Regions from separate parts of the Homo sapiens genome. Here region 2 is linked to region 1. The links are contacts of gene promoters, found by promoter capture Hi-C in human tissues and cell types (Jung and others, 2019). All regions are on one chromosome and are shown on one strand. The core of a region is centred on a gene start or on the middle of the fragment in contact, and the rest is flanking DNA. Distances in the headings are between cores, read along the strand shown. Region 1 holds the start of MRPL21 (mitochondrial ribosomal protein L21). Region 2 overlaps CPT1A (carnitine palmitoyltransferase 1A).

Region 1 (6,764 bases), core at 869-3,368:
CCCAATGGAACTCCGAATTGGCTCCACTCCCAATCCCGCTCCTCCTACATCCCCCTAGGGCAGTTAATGCCACAACCCTTCTCTCAGTTACCTGAGACAGATCTTTCAATCAGCATTCCCCTCTCTCCTCCCATCTGTCACTAAGTCCTATCAGGCCCCTCCCATTTCTACCTGGACTTCTCTGCCTCTCATCCTGGCTGCCACAGCCCCGGTTCAAATCCACATCACTGCTCACCTGGACTAAACAGAGCCTCTCAACTACCTTACCTCTGGCCTCTCCACGTCCAATCAAAAGCAGGAGACCCAAGAAATCCTCCTAAAATGCAAAGCTATTCGCCTCCCTCACCTGCTTAACCCCGCTGATGGCCCATCCTTCATACACAGAACAGAAGACTAGCTCCTTAGCCAGGCCCTTCCCAGGCTCGCCCTGCCAGTCTGCTCAGCATCCTCAGAAAGAGCCACTGCCATGGGGGCTGACTCTGTCCTTGGCACCACGCTGAGCACCTGACTGACAGGGGATCGTTTCATTCTCAGAGCAAGCCTGTGAGGTGGGAATCATCCCAGTTTTACAGATGAAGTAAGTAAGGCTCAGAGACAGAACCTGCAAAGTCACACAGCCATAAATGAAACAGCTGGGATTCTAAGAAACTCAACATAACTGCAAAAGCTCTCCATTGCCATGATCAAAAGCATCTCAGACAAATCCTACCCACATATGGCTGACTGCAAACTCTGGAAGCAGACTGCCTGACAGCAAATCGGGCTACACTGTGTCACCCCGGGGCAAGTTACTTAACCCCTCTCTGTCTCCATCTCCTTAGACGGAAAATGACAGTAACAGAAACCTACACTGCGGCCGGGCACGGTGGCTCACGCCTGTAATCCCAACACTTTGGGAGGCCAAGGCGGGCAGACCACGAGGTCAGGAGATCGAGACCATCCTGGCCAACATGGTGAAACCCTGTCTCTACTAAAAATACAAAAAATTAGCAGGACGTGGTGGCGCGCCTGTAGTCCCAGCCACTCAGGAGGCTGAGGCAGGAGAATCGCTTGAACCCGGGAGATGGAAGCTGCAGTAAGCCGAGATCGTGCCACTGCACTCCAGCCTGGGCGACAGAGAGAGACTCTGTCTAAAAAAAAAAAAAAGAAAAAGAAAAAAAAGAAACTTACACTGTAGGGTTGGCATGGGATGAGGTGTAAAAGAATTAACGCATGGAAAGTACGTAAGTGTTAGCTCTGATTGTTTTGGACAAGTAAATAGTCCCATTCGGAAACAAGCCCGGCTCTCACATGGCTCCCCACACCTCTCAGGACGGCTCCCCACCCTACTCCGCACCCACCAGCTTAACTCCAATTTTCCTTCAGGCACCACTCCCTCCTTGAAGCCACCATGACCCTCCCCAGGGAAGGGCCTTCCTCCTCCAGGCTCTTTCCCCGCGACACGCACGCAGCCGGCCCTGGACGCACTGGAGGGGAAGGGACTCTCTGCTTATGCCCAGCCCGCCGCTGGCCGGATCGGGGGCAGCCAGTGCACCTGACTCATGCTGCCGGGGCCTGACTGAGAATGGGCGCAAACCATGTTTACTGAATGAATAAGGGAAAGGGCTGCTAACTCGCTGCGGGTGGAACTGGGGTCGGGGCCAGGGCCCAGGAGTGTAAGCTTAGTGGGGGGTCTCGGGTCGGGAAATCAAAGTGCTTCTTAAGGGTCCCCAAACGGAACGCGCTGCCCAGGAAGTGATGAGACTGACAACTCGGGAGGTGGCCAAGCAGGGGACGGACGATCCCTGCCCCTGACTCGAAGGGTCGGAGACGAAATTCCCGCCCCAGACTATGAGGCCGAGCCCCTCGGAGACTCTGCCCGGGACACGGCGGGACCGACCGCGAGGGAGCGGCGCCGGCGGCCTCCCGTACCTGCGCTCCTCCACCTCCGCGTCTCTCTCAAGCTCCAGCAGGTCCAGTTGCTTGGTCACGAAGCTCTCCACAGCTGCCGAGGCCATCGCCGCCGCCGGCCTGGGCCCCTAGAAGCCGACGTCCCGCTTCTGCGCCGGGCCGGTGTTACAGCGGACCGGTGTTCCCCGCCGGGCCCGTGCGTTACGCACGCGGTTCGCGTCGTTTCCGTTTCCGGCCGAGGCTGCGGCCATGGCAGCATCTTCCCTGACGGTCACCTTAGGGCGGCTGGCGTCCGCGTGCAGCCACAGCATCCTGAGACCTTCGGGGCCCGGAGCAGGTGAGACCTGGGATATGGGAGGAAGGGAGGACGCAGAGCGAGCGCTGCTCCCTGCGGTCTCGCCACGTATGTGCCTGGGTCCGACCTGGTGCCTTGTGTGTTGATCGCATTTGTGGTGAATATAGCACGGGTTTTGGAGTCGGGGGAACCCAGGTTCAGATTTTGATTCCTTCAGTTAGTAGCCTGAATACTGACAATAGCCCTTGAACTTTGGTATAGGCCCTATGTTATGGGGGAGAAGAGTGAGGCTCAGAGGAGCTAGGTAACGTGCCCAGGGTCACACAGCGGGGAAGTGGAAGAAGAGTACTTCAGGCGCAGTCATTTCGGCTCCAAAGCCTGTGCTTGAACCACTGCCCCCAGGCTGCGAGCTGGTCTGAAAAATGGTGATGGATATCCTCGCCTAATCTGAACTCATTCTGCAAAAGAAACAGCCGTATTTAAGGCGCTGGGCTGATACGAGGCTCCAAAAAGGTTATGTCCGTTAAAAACTCTATAAATCTCTGCTTGAAAATGGTTGGAGTGTGTATTTGTGTGCATGAGTGTTTATGTATGTTTTAAACCTGGGTTTCATGTCTCACCATGACCCCCAAAAATGGAAAACTGGATCTAACTCTATATTGGACGATATTAAAAGAATAGTACCATAATTCCCAAAACTTGGAAGCAACCCAGATGTCCTTCAGGAGATGAATGGTTACATAAACTGTAGGACATCCATACAGTAGAATATTATGCAGCAATAAAAAGAAATGAGTCATGAAGAGACATGGAGGAAACTTACATACATGTTACTAAGTAAAAGAAGCCAACCTGAAAAGGGGACATCTTGTATGTTTCCCACTATGACATTCTGGAAAAGGCAAATCTAAGGAGACAGTAAAAAGTTACATGGGGGGTAAGAGGATTGGGGGAGAAAAGGATAAATAGGTGGAGCTCAGAGGATTTTTAGGGCAGTGAAACTATTCTGTATGATATAATGGTAGATACATGTCATTATAAGTTTGTCCAAATCCATAGAATGTACACTACCAAGGGTGAACCCCTAATGTAGACTATGGACTTTGGATAACAATGATGTGTCAATGTAGGTTCATCAATTGTAAAGATTGTACCACTCTGGTGAGGGATGTTGATAGGAAGCTGTGGGCACATGGACAGGGGACATATGGGAACTCTCTGTACCTTCCACTCAATTTTGGTGTGAAACTAAAACTGTGCTAAAAAATAAAGTCTATTAAGAAATTAATAATAATCACAGAGTTGGGCCAGAGGCAATGTAGATGCCAAAATTGGCCATGAGTTGGTAACTGTTGAACCTGGAAAGGGATAATTGAGAGAGTTCACTATTCTGTTCTCTTTACTTTTGTATGCTTGACATTTTCCATAATAAAACTTAGGTTTAAGTAGGCAGGAAAGTTTTTACAAAAGCAGTGGGACTTACTCCATTCTACCTACCTACATGAAACCACCCCTCCAATGCTATGTTCAAGTACAGACTCACGCATTAGGAGAGAAAGACACACAGTGAAGCGAGTAGAGACAAGGTGACCAAAACAGTGAGCAGCTGGGGCCTTGAAGAGTGAGCAAAGGAGACGTGATGGAAGTACACAGTCACAGTCTCTAGGACTACCTAAAGGAAATCCTGTGGGAGAGGAAGGAGACTGTTTGTTCCCTGGGGACCCAAAAACAAAGCTAGAAGCAAATTAGGTACAGAAGCCTGCTAAGTTTTTAATAGTGGGATGGATTTGCCAATGGGTTGACTGAGTAGTGTGCGAGAGAAGAGTCAAAACTGATGGAGGTTTGGGGCCTGAGCAACTGGGAGGATGAAGTTGCCCTCATGTGAGAGGGAGGAGTGTGGGAGAAGCAGGCATGGGAAGAAATGAGGAGCCTCTGGAGGTGTGAGGTGCTCGTCAGACACGAGTGGCTAAGGCAGATAGATAGGTGGGTATGCAAAACCAGGAGAGAAGCCCTGGCTGGAGGTGTAAACTTGGGAGTCACCAGCACATTGGGGGTGTTTAAATCCATCGGACTGGATGCAGTCACCAGAGGAATGGCCATGGGCGGAGAGGAGGTCAAGGCCAAGGGTTGAGCCCCGGATGCCCAAATGGGAGAGGAGAGGAGAAAGCAGCCGAGGAGATGCAAATGGGGAGCTGGTGCTAATGGGTGAACTTTAAAAAGGTGGTTTTTATGGTGTGTAAATTATAGCTGAGTTTCTTTAAAAGTGGTTATTGAGAAACTGTTCTCTGCTTTTTACACCTAAGCACTTATTTTGATCCCCTGTCTTCTCAGTAGATTGAATGTCTTTGTTTCCTGGTGTATTCCTGGTGTATGCGTTATCTACGGTTACATCAGAAATTACCCCAAAACTTAGCAGCTTAAAACATTTATTAACTCACACCAGTTCTGAGAGCCAGGAACACAGAAGCAGCTTAAGTGGCTGGTTCTGGCTCAGGGTCTTAGCTTGCAGCAAGCAAGTCTGCAGGGGCTGTAGTTATCTCAAGACTCCACTGCGCCAGCGGCTGGAGAATCTACCTGCAAGGTCGTTCCCATGGGTGTTGGCGATAGGCCTAGTTCCCCGCCATGTGGACCTCTAGGTAGGGCTGCTCACAGCAGGGCAGCCCTAAGGCCAGAGATCAGAAAGGGTGAGCACAGGCATCCAAGATGGAAGTCCCAGTTGGTTATCACCTCATCCCAGAAGCCACGTGCTAGCATGTCTGTCACTAGCTGTTGGACACACAGGCCACTCCCAGGGGGCTAACAGGGGTAAGAATAGCAGGAGGCGGGGCCCAGCAGGGCCATCTTGGAGGCTGCTCCCACGCTTGGGCACAGATCAGAGTCTGAACCTACCAGGCACTTAGTCAAGGCATGAGTTAGTGGACGGGTGGTTCTGGTCTCAGGCGCTTGTAGATGATGTGGCTAACTGATCTCAACACATATAACCAGTAGCTGTAAGTGACGTTCTTGTAGTTTTGCTCACCTAGGTGTTTCTGTGGGCAGGCTGTCATGCAGTGGTTCATACCATGTACCAGGAGCAGCAGCTGTGCATTTAGCATCATAAAGGGCAGTTTGCATTTGTAGTATTAATGGTAATGATCTGTGTTTCTCTTCTTCCCTCAGCCTCCCTTTGGTCTGCTTCTCGAAGGTTCAATTCACAGAGCACTTCATATCTACCAGGGTAATATCAAAATGTGGGTTTTGGTGCCTCTTTTCCTTTCATTTGTAGAACCATCTTTCTAAAGTCAAAACTTCCTACCTTTTGGTTCTCAATAATATTTAAATTTCCTCTTTTGTTTTTAAGAGACAGAGTTTCACTATGTTTCCCAGACTGGTTTTGAACTCCTGGCCTAAAGTGGTCCTCCCGCCTCAGCCTCCTGAGTAGCTGGGATTACAGGCATGCACCACCACTTTCAGCTTTAACTTTTTTGACGGTATTTTTCTGAGACCCTTAAAAGAAGACGTAACTGCAAGAGACCAAAGAGAAATTCTGTATGTGTTTGCTCTCTTTTATTATGGAGGAGCTTGAAGTCTTAACTCAAGATTTCTGATGAGGAAGTTTGTATCAGAGTCTCTAAGAGAAACTCATTATTTGAAAAAGCACATTCAGTGTTAAAATTTTATACTTGAGAAAACATTTTTAGGTATCATAAACTGCAGAAAACATTCGACAAAGTTCCACTCACTGGTGGGAGACACAGGAGCAGTGCAGGGATAGCAGTTACTGTAGGGACCCCCCCGGGGTGCAGTTCCGGCTGCCCCTCACAGCCTGGGACGCCAGGCTTCTGCAAGATGGAAGTAATGTTCATTTCTATCTGCATGGGTGTTGGAGAGGATTAAGTAAATGTATACATTTAAAGCTCTTAGAACAGTGCCTGGCATACAGTCAGCACTCACAAAACATTGGCTGCTGGAACTGCTGCTGGGACTCCAGGGATCCTCTGCAGTGGGGAGATGTGGGAGTCTTTCTTGCTTCTCAAAGAAGCGGCAAAACATTCTGAGCATAGGAAGAAGTTGTAAGTGAGCATGTGGGTAGGTTGTGCCTACTACCCCTGTGTCCTGTGTGAGAGGTTAGCACCTTCCTGCCAGCGTGTTCTTCTCACACTGGGCACTGCTGAACCCGTATGGGGAGACTAGACATCAAACAGGTCAAAGACGTTTTGTAGAGAGCAGCACCTTCCTTGTCCTCCTTGTCTCTCAAGGTCATTGACCAACCACAGATCACGGAGTTCATGTCTCTAGGAGCTCCAAGCCCTACCCCACTGGGAAAGCATTCATTCCTCTCCCAGATTGGTGTGGAGCCCCTCCTGCGCGCCAGCCAACAGGACGGGTGGGCCTGGTCTTTGGTGTGGAGGCCGGTGCATTTTGCATATGGAGCAAGTCGTTTTCTTCCTCCTAATGCAACCCTGGAGTAGAAAGACTGAAATTTTACTTTGCAGTGGCAGCAGCAATAAAAGCTTAAAAACGGTTCTGAATAATTCGGTTTGGGATCTACCTACCCTCCCTCTTTGTAGACTACAGAAAGAAAGACCCCACCTCCTTT
Region 2 (6,678 bases), core at 960-3,459, 110 kb after region 1:
CTATCTGTCACTCTAGATTAGTTTGCAATTTTTAAAGCTTTGTGTAAGTGGAATCATAACAGTATGCACTCTTTTTTTCGGAATTCTAGTTTCTTTCACCCAGCCTAATTATTCTGAGATGTAATTCTCCTTGTGTCTCCTAAATGAATATACATCTGTTGTACTTTAATTCTGTAATCTGCCCTTTGGAGAAGCCCTTGATGTTTTTGAACTAATACTAGCTGCTTAGTTGCTCATAAGAAACAAGACTTTTCTTCCTGGAATATTTCTTTGGTTGTAAGTGTCAGTTATCAATAATCAATTAGAATGTGTTATTTAGGATTTAACTGTGCAGGAAGTTGCACCCTGGCATGGTTTAATGAGTCCCCCAACGAATCATTCCAGTGAGCCACTGGAAAAGAGGAAGTCAAACGAAGCAATTCGCACAGAAAACACATTCAGCATTTCCATGTGGTCTTAACTTGCTTGCTGCTTGCTGCTTTTGTTTTCTTTTTTTTTTTTTTTTTGAGACAGAGTCTCGCTCTGTTGCCGAGGCTGGAGTGTAGTGGCACGATCTCAGCTCACTGCAGGCTCTGCCTCCCGGGTTCATGCCATTCTCCTGCCTCAACCTCCCAAGTAGCTGGGACTACAGGCACCCGACACCATGCCCGGCTAATTTTTTTGTATTTTTAGTAGAGACGGGGTTTCACTGTGTTAGCCAGGATGGTCTCCATCTACTGACCTCGTGATCCGCCCGCCTCAGCCTCCCAAAGTGTTGGGATTACAGGCGTGAGCCACCGCACCCGGCCAACTTGCTGCTTTTCTTCTGTGGGATTTTCGTTGTTGGTTTGAAATATATTTTTGTTACAGATTCGTCTTTTGGGATCCACGATTCCACTCTGCTCCGCTCAGTGGGAGCGGATGTTTAATACTTCCCGGATCCCAGGAGAGGAGACAGGTGAGTCAAGCTTCTTCAGGGCCCCCTGGAGAATCGGCACTTTCCATCCCTATGCTCAGAATTAGGAAGTGTCAAAGGGGCCAAATTGATTTTTGCTGACCCTTCCTGAGATTGTAGGCTGGTGAACATTCCTTCTGCTGAATTTCCTTTGTCTGTCTTAGGCCTGGACACTGTTGTTGACTTATTTCCAGATTTTAATTTCTCTTTGGTTGAAGACTGCCAACTGTCTCATAGAGTGTTTGATTTATTTATTTATTTATTTATTTTGACATGAGGTCTCTCTCTGCCACCCAGGCTGGAGTGCAGTGACATGATCACGGCTCACTTCAGCCTCCACCTCCTGAGCTCAAGGAATCCTCCCATCTTAGCCTCCCCAGTAGCTGAGACCACAGGCACATGCATCATGCCTGGCTAATTTTTGCATTTTTTATAGAGATGAGGTTTTGCCGTGTTGCCCAGGCTGATCTCAAACTCCTGGACTCAAGTGATCCGCCCGCTTCGGCCTCCCGAAGTGCTGGGATTACAGGCGTGAGTCACACACAGCTGAGTGTTTTTTTCCTGAGTCTGGATTCCTCAGGGGCATTTTACTCCGGCTCACAGTCAGCGTTTGTGATGGAACGCACACTGGGTCGTGCTCGGAAAGGTGGATTTGTGTTCCAGCCACTCCTTTATCAGCTGCCTGACCTGGGCAGGGTGGCCACGTAAGCCACCGTCCAAACCAGGACGTCCTTGAGAATGACAGGGAGGGAGAACAGGCACCGTGGGGAACATCCAGGCCAGGCCCAGGCCCAGGCTGTGCTGTCCATGGCCTCCATTTCCCCAGGTGCCTGTGGATGGGGAACTACCCAGAGACACTTGGTGAGCTAGAGCCCAAGACCATCATGGCAGGCCTGTATGACGGGCGGGCCTCGGGGCTGCTTGGGAAGCTGGCTGGAAAGGGCCAGAGCTGACCTGCAATTTTATTTATTTATTTTTTTTTAGAGGGAGTCTCGCTCTGTTGCCCAGGCTGGAGTGCAGTGGCGCGATCTCGGCTCACTGCAACCTCCACCTCCCGAGTTCACGCCATTCTCCTGCCTCAGCCTCCCGAGTAGCTGGGACTATAGGTGTCTGCCACCACGCCCGGCTAATTTTTTATATTTTTAGTAGAGACGGAGTTTCACCGTGTTAGCCAGGATGGTCTCATCTCCTGACCTCGTGATCGTCCCACCTCGGCCTTCCAAAGTGCTGGAATTACAGATGTGAGCCACCATGCCTGGCCTGACCTGCAGTTTTGAGTGTCTTGTTGCAGCCCGGTCCTTCCAGACCAAGCCCTAGTCAATATTCCAGACCAAGCCCTAGTCAGTAGTGTGCACTGTGGTGGTCATTGGGGAGCCTTTGCTGTATCCTTGCACAAAAGCTGGCCTCTGAGTGGGCTTTCCTAAGCAGATTCTCCCCTTTCCTCTGATCCTGCCTTCAGAGGTTCTCTAAAAACCCATTCTGGCCAGGCGCGGTGGCTCACGCCTGTAATCCCAGCATTTTGGGAGGCCGAAGTGGGCAGATCACCTGAGGTCAGGAGTTCAAGACCAGCCTACTACTGGTCTACAAAACCCCATCTCTACTAAAAATACAAAATTAGCCAGGTATGGTGGTGGGCACCCGTAATCCCAGCTACTTGGGAGGCTAAGGCAGACGAATCACTTGAACATGGGAGGTGGAGGTTGCAGTGAACTGAGATTGTGCCACTGCACTCCAGCCCGGGCAACAAGAGTGAAACTTCATCTCAAAAAAACAAAAAAGAACCCACTCCATGTGTGTTCACGGATTTCACAGTGTTTCTGGCTAAACCCCTCCTCTCTTCCTGCCACACACTGTCGTCCATTGTACTGTAGCTCAACATGTGAAAAACAGATGTGTTGGCCAACAGCAGTCCTGGGGCAGTTGGGCAACGAGGTGGAGGAAAGTGAAGTTGGTTCTCTCCATCCTCTCACAGTGTCTCCCTGATTGGAGGGGCAGTTGCCCCTTCACTGACCAGGGCAGGCAGTGTCCCCAAAGGGAAGTGGGTCAGGGTGTCCTGGGGAGGCTGTCACCTGCTGTCAGTCAGCACCGTGGTATGGGGACATCCTTAAGATCATTTAAGTTTGAGACATGCGGCCTACACTGACAGTGATTCCAGGAGGTAAATATGTATGTGTTTAAAAAAATAAACAAGGGAGGCCAGGCACAAAGGCTCATTCCTGTAATCCCAGCACTTTGGGAGGCCAAGGCAGGTGGATCACCTGAGGTCAGGAGTTCGACACCAGCCTGGCCAACATGGTGAAACCCCATCTCTACTGAAAATACAAAAATTAGCCAGGTGTGGTGGTGCATACCTGTAATCCCGGCTACTCAGGAGGCAGAGGTAGGAGGATTGCTTGAACCTGGGAGGTGGAGGTTGCAGTGAGCCAAGATCATGCCACTGCACTCCAGCTTGAGTGACAGAGTGAGACTCCATCTCAAAAAAATATGTATATGAAATAAAAATAAAATAAATCAATAAACAAGGGAAATGCTGGGATAAAACCTAGTTACTTAGTGTACCTGGACAGCCATTCTGAGCATGATACCTGAGTCAGTTTCCTGGGGCTGCTGGAATAAATGACCACAAACTGGATGTCTTAAGACAAAAGAAGTTTCTTCTGCCACAGCTCTGGAGGCCAGAGTCCGAGATCAAGGTGTCAGCAGGGCCGTGCTCTTTTCAAAGGCTCTGGGGGAGGCCTTTATGCCTCTTCCAGCTTCTGGGGGGGTCCAGGTGCTCCTTGGCTTGTAGGCATATCACTCTGATCTCTGCCTCCATGTCACCTTGGCTCTCACCTCTGTGTGTGTGTGTCTCTCTTACAAGGACAACAGTCATTGGATTTGGGGTCCACCCTAGTCCAGTATGACCTCATCTTAATATTGAATTATATCAGCAAAGACCCTATTTCCAGGCCAGATGTGGTGGCTCATGCCTGTAATCCCAGCACATTGGGAGGCTGAGGTGGGTGGATCACCTGAGCCCAGGAGTTTGAGAGCAGCCTGGGCAACATGGCAAAACCCCATCTCTACAAAAAATACAAAAATTAGTCGGACATAGTGGTGTGTACCTGTGGTCCCAGCTACTCAGGAGGCTGAGGAGGGAGGATCACTTGAGCCTGGGAGGTGGAGACTGTAGTGAGCTGAGCTGTGATCACACCACTGCACTTAGCCTGGGTGACAGAATGAGACCCTGTCTCAAAAAAAGAAAAAAAAGACCCTACTTCCGATTAAGAAATAAGGTTTTCACAGGTACCAGGGCTAGAACATGGACATATCTTTTGGGTAGAAACAGCTCAACTCATTACAACAACGGAAAAATCCAAATATTGTCATGTAAAGATTTTAGTTTTCTATATTTCAAAAATACTTCAAACTGTTTTAAAAGGTAGATAACAAATTGAGGGTAAGTGCTCACAACAGAGAACAGGGTTAATATGTAAAGAGTTCTTATAAATCTGCCAGAAAACCATGAAGATCCTAATTGGAAAGGAAATGATGGGCACCCCTGGAAGGAGAAATGTTTAAGGAGTTATAGAAAAGCATTCAACATCACTGGGAATGAAAGAAATGTAAATACAAAGCCTGGGAGTGGTGGCTCACGCCTGTAATCCCAGCACTTTGGGAGGCCGAGGCGGGTGGATCACTTGAGGTCAGGAGTTCGAGACCATCCTGGCCAACATGGTGAAACCCCACCTCTACTAAAAGAAACCCACAAAAATTAACCAGGCGTGATAGCAGATGTCTGTAATCCCTGCTACTCAGGAGGCTGAGGCAGGAGAATCACTTGAACCTGGGAGGAGGAGCTTGCAGTAAGCTGAGATCGCACCACTGCACTCCAGCCTGGGTGACAGAGCAAGACCCTGTCAAAAAAAAAAAATAAAGAAAGGTAAATGTATATGAGCACGTGCAATGCCATTCGTTGGTGATCATCGGGCAAAGCCCCACCCACTTTCTCAGACATCCCCACCGGAGGATCCCATCAGTCACAATCCTCACTAATTAGACCATTCAAATTCCCCAAAATAAAAAAAGGGAAAGAGGTATAGACTTATCTTAAGGGTCTTAAGTTCTGGCATTTTTCTATTTAATAATATATATTGCTATAAAATGGAATTACTACCAAAATTTAGAAAATCTTTTAGCAGAAGATACAGCCCTAATCTTACCACTCCAGTACAATCATTATTGACATTTATGATGTACTTCGTTATAGTATCAAAACAATTCCAGTATGTGAACGCTTTTCTTTCTTTCCTGTTTTCCTTTCTAAGTGACGCTCAGTGAATTCTGTGTATGTTTCTCCCCTGCATGCATTGGTCAAACAGTCTGTAGAGCAGGCACCTAGAATTGGCTTGCCGGCTGCCCTGGTTGACATTTCCAGTCTTACTGGCATGGACAAATTACCCTCAAAGTGATTTTACCAACTTTCACGTCCCCAGCAATCTATAAAATACCCTTTTCCCTTCATTTTTGCCAAAAGGGTTAGCAACTTTTAAAATGTTAACTGGACATTTGGGTTTCTTCTGTTGAGAATATTGTTCTTATATTTTGTATATTTTTTAAAAATGGATGTGTATCTTTTCCTTATTGATTTGTAGAAAGTATTTATATATTCCAGACATTCTGCTTTTTTTTTTTTTTTTTTTTTTTTACTTTTGTTTGTTTGTTTGTTTTTGTTTTTTTGAAACTGAGTCTCACTCTGTTGCCGAGGCTGGAGTGCAGTGGTGCAATCTTGGCTCACTGCAAACCGCACCTTCCAGTTTCAAGCGATTGTCCTGCCTCAGCCTCCCTAGTAGCTGGGATTACAGGCATGCACCACCACACCCAGCTTACTTTTGTATTTTTAATAGAGACGGGGTTTTGCCATGTTGGCCAGGCTGATCTCAAACTCTTGGCCTCAAGTGATCCGCCCGCCTCGGCCTCCCAAAGTGCTGGGATTACAGGCATGAGCCACTGTGCCTGGCCCCTTTTTTGTTTTTTAGGCGATTTTAATAAAATGTCATACTTTTCTCCATGAAGTCCTTGCAGCACATCATTTGTTCGAGCTGTTTCTAAGCACTTTTATTGTTTTGTTCCTTTTCAAGAATATTTTCAAGGTGTTGGTTATGCAGCGTGTAAGTTTGCCCAGGCCACCATAACAAATACCACAGACTGCACGGCTTAAGCAAGACAGCGATTTTCTCACAATTCTGCAGGCTGGAACTCCAACATCAAGGTGTTGGCAGAGGTGGTTCCTTCTGTAGGCCCCTCTCCTTGGATAACCATCTCTTCCCTGTGTCCTTACGTGGTCATCCCTCTGTGCGTGTCCTAAAGTCTCCCTTTTTTTTTTTTTTTTTTTTGAGACTGAGTCTCATTCTGTCACCCAGGCTGGAATGCAGTGCACAATCTCGGCTCACTGCAACCTCCACCTCCTGGGTTCAAGTGATTCTCCTGCTCCAGACTCCCAAGTAGCTGGGACTACAGGTGTCCGCCACCACGCCTGGCTAATTTTTGTAATTTTTTAGTAGAGACGAGTTTTCACCATGTAGGCCAGGCTGGCCTCGAACTCCTGACCTCAGGCGATCTGCCCACCTCGGCCTCCCAAAGTGCTGGGATTATAGACGTGAGCCACCGCACCCAACCCTAAACTCCTCTTCTTAAAAGGACACAGTCACATAGGATTAGGGCCCACCCTAATGACCTCATTAAAGACCCCATCTCCAAATGAG

Evidence for each region. Contacts are between HindIII fragments. The study calls those that stand out against the background at their distance.
Region 2: a contact is called between a fragment that was not itself captured here and the fragment with the promoter of MRPL21 in region 1, in 2 of the 25 tissues and cell types used here (IMR-90 fibroblasts and aorta).

What each region holds. Positions count from the first base shown.
Region 1 is chr11:68,899,186-68,905,949 of GRCh38, reverse strand. It overlaps MRPL21 (mitochondrial ribosomal protein L21), which reads left to right and starts at 2,118. Exons shown (of 7, transcript NM_181514.2): 1 at 2,118-2,227; 2 at 5,345-5,402. The coding sequence starts at 2,140. IGHMBP2 (immunoglobulin mu DNA binding protein 2) reads right to left here and starts at 2,059. Exons shown (of 15, transcript NM_002180.3): 1 at 1,912-2,059. The coding sequence starts at 1,997. RefSeq lists enhancers at 1,577-1,636, 1,967-2,086, 1,518-2,245. The HindIII fragment of the contact is 6,843 bases long and covers 83-6,764 here.
Region 2 is chr11:68,787,574-68,794,251 of GRCh38, reverse strand. It overlaps CPT1A (carnitine palmitoyltransferase 1A), which reads left to right. Exons shown (of 19, transcript NM_001876.4): 9 at 850-937. Among named protein-coding and RNA genes, the nearest start is that of TESMIN, 39 kb to the right of the region's middle. The HindIII fragment of the contact is 3,433 bases long and covers 493-3,925 here.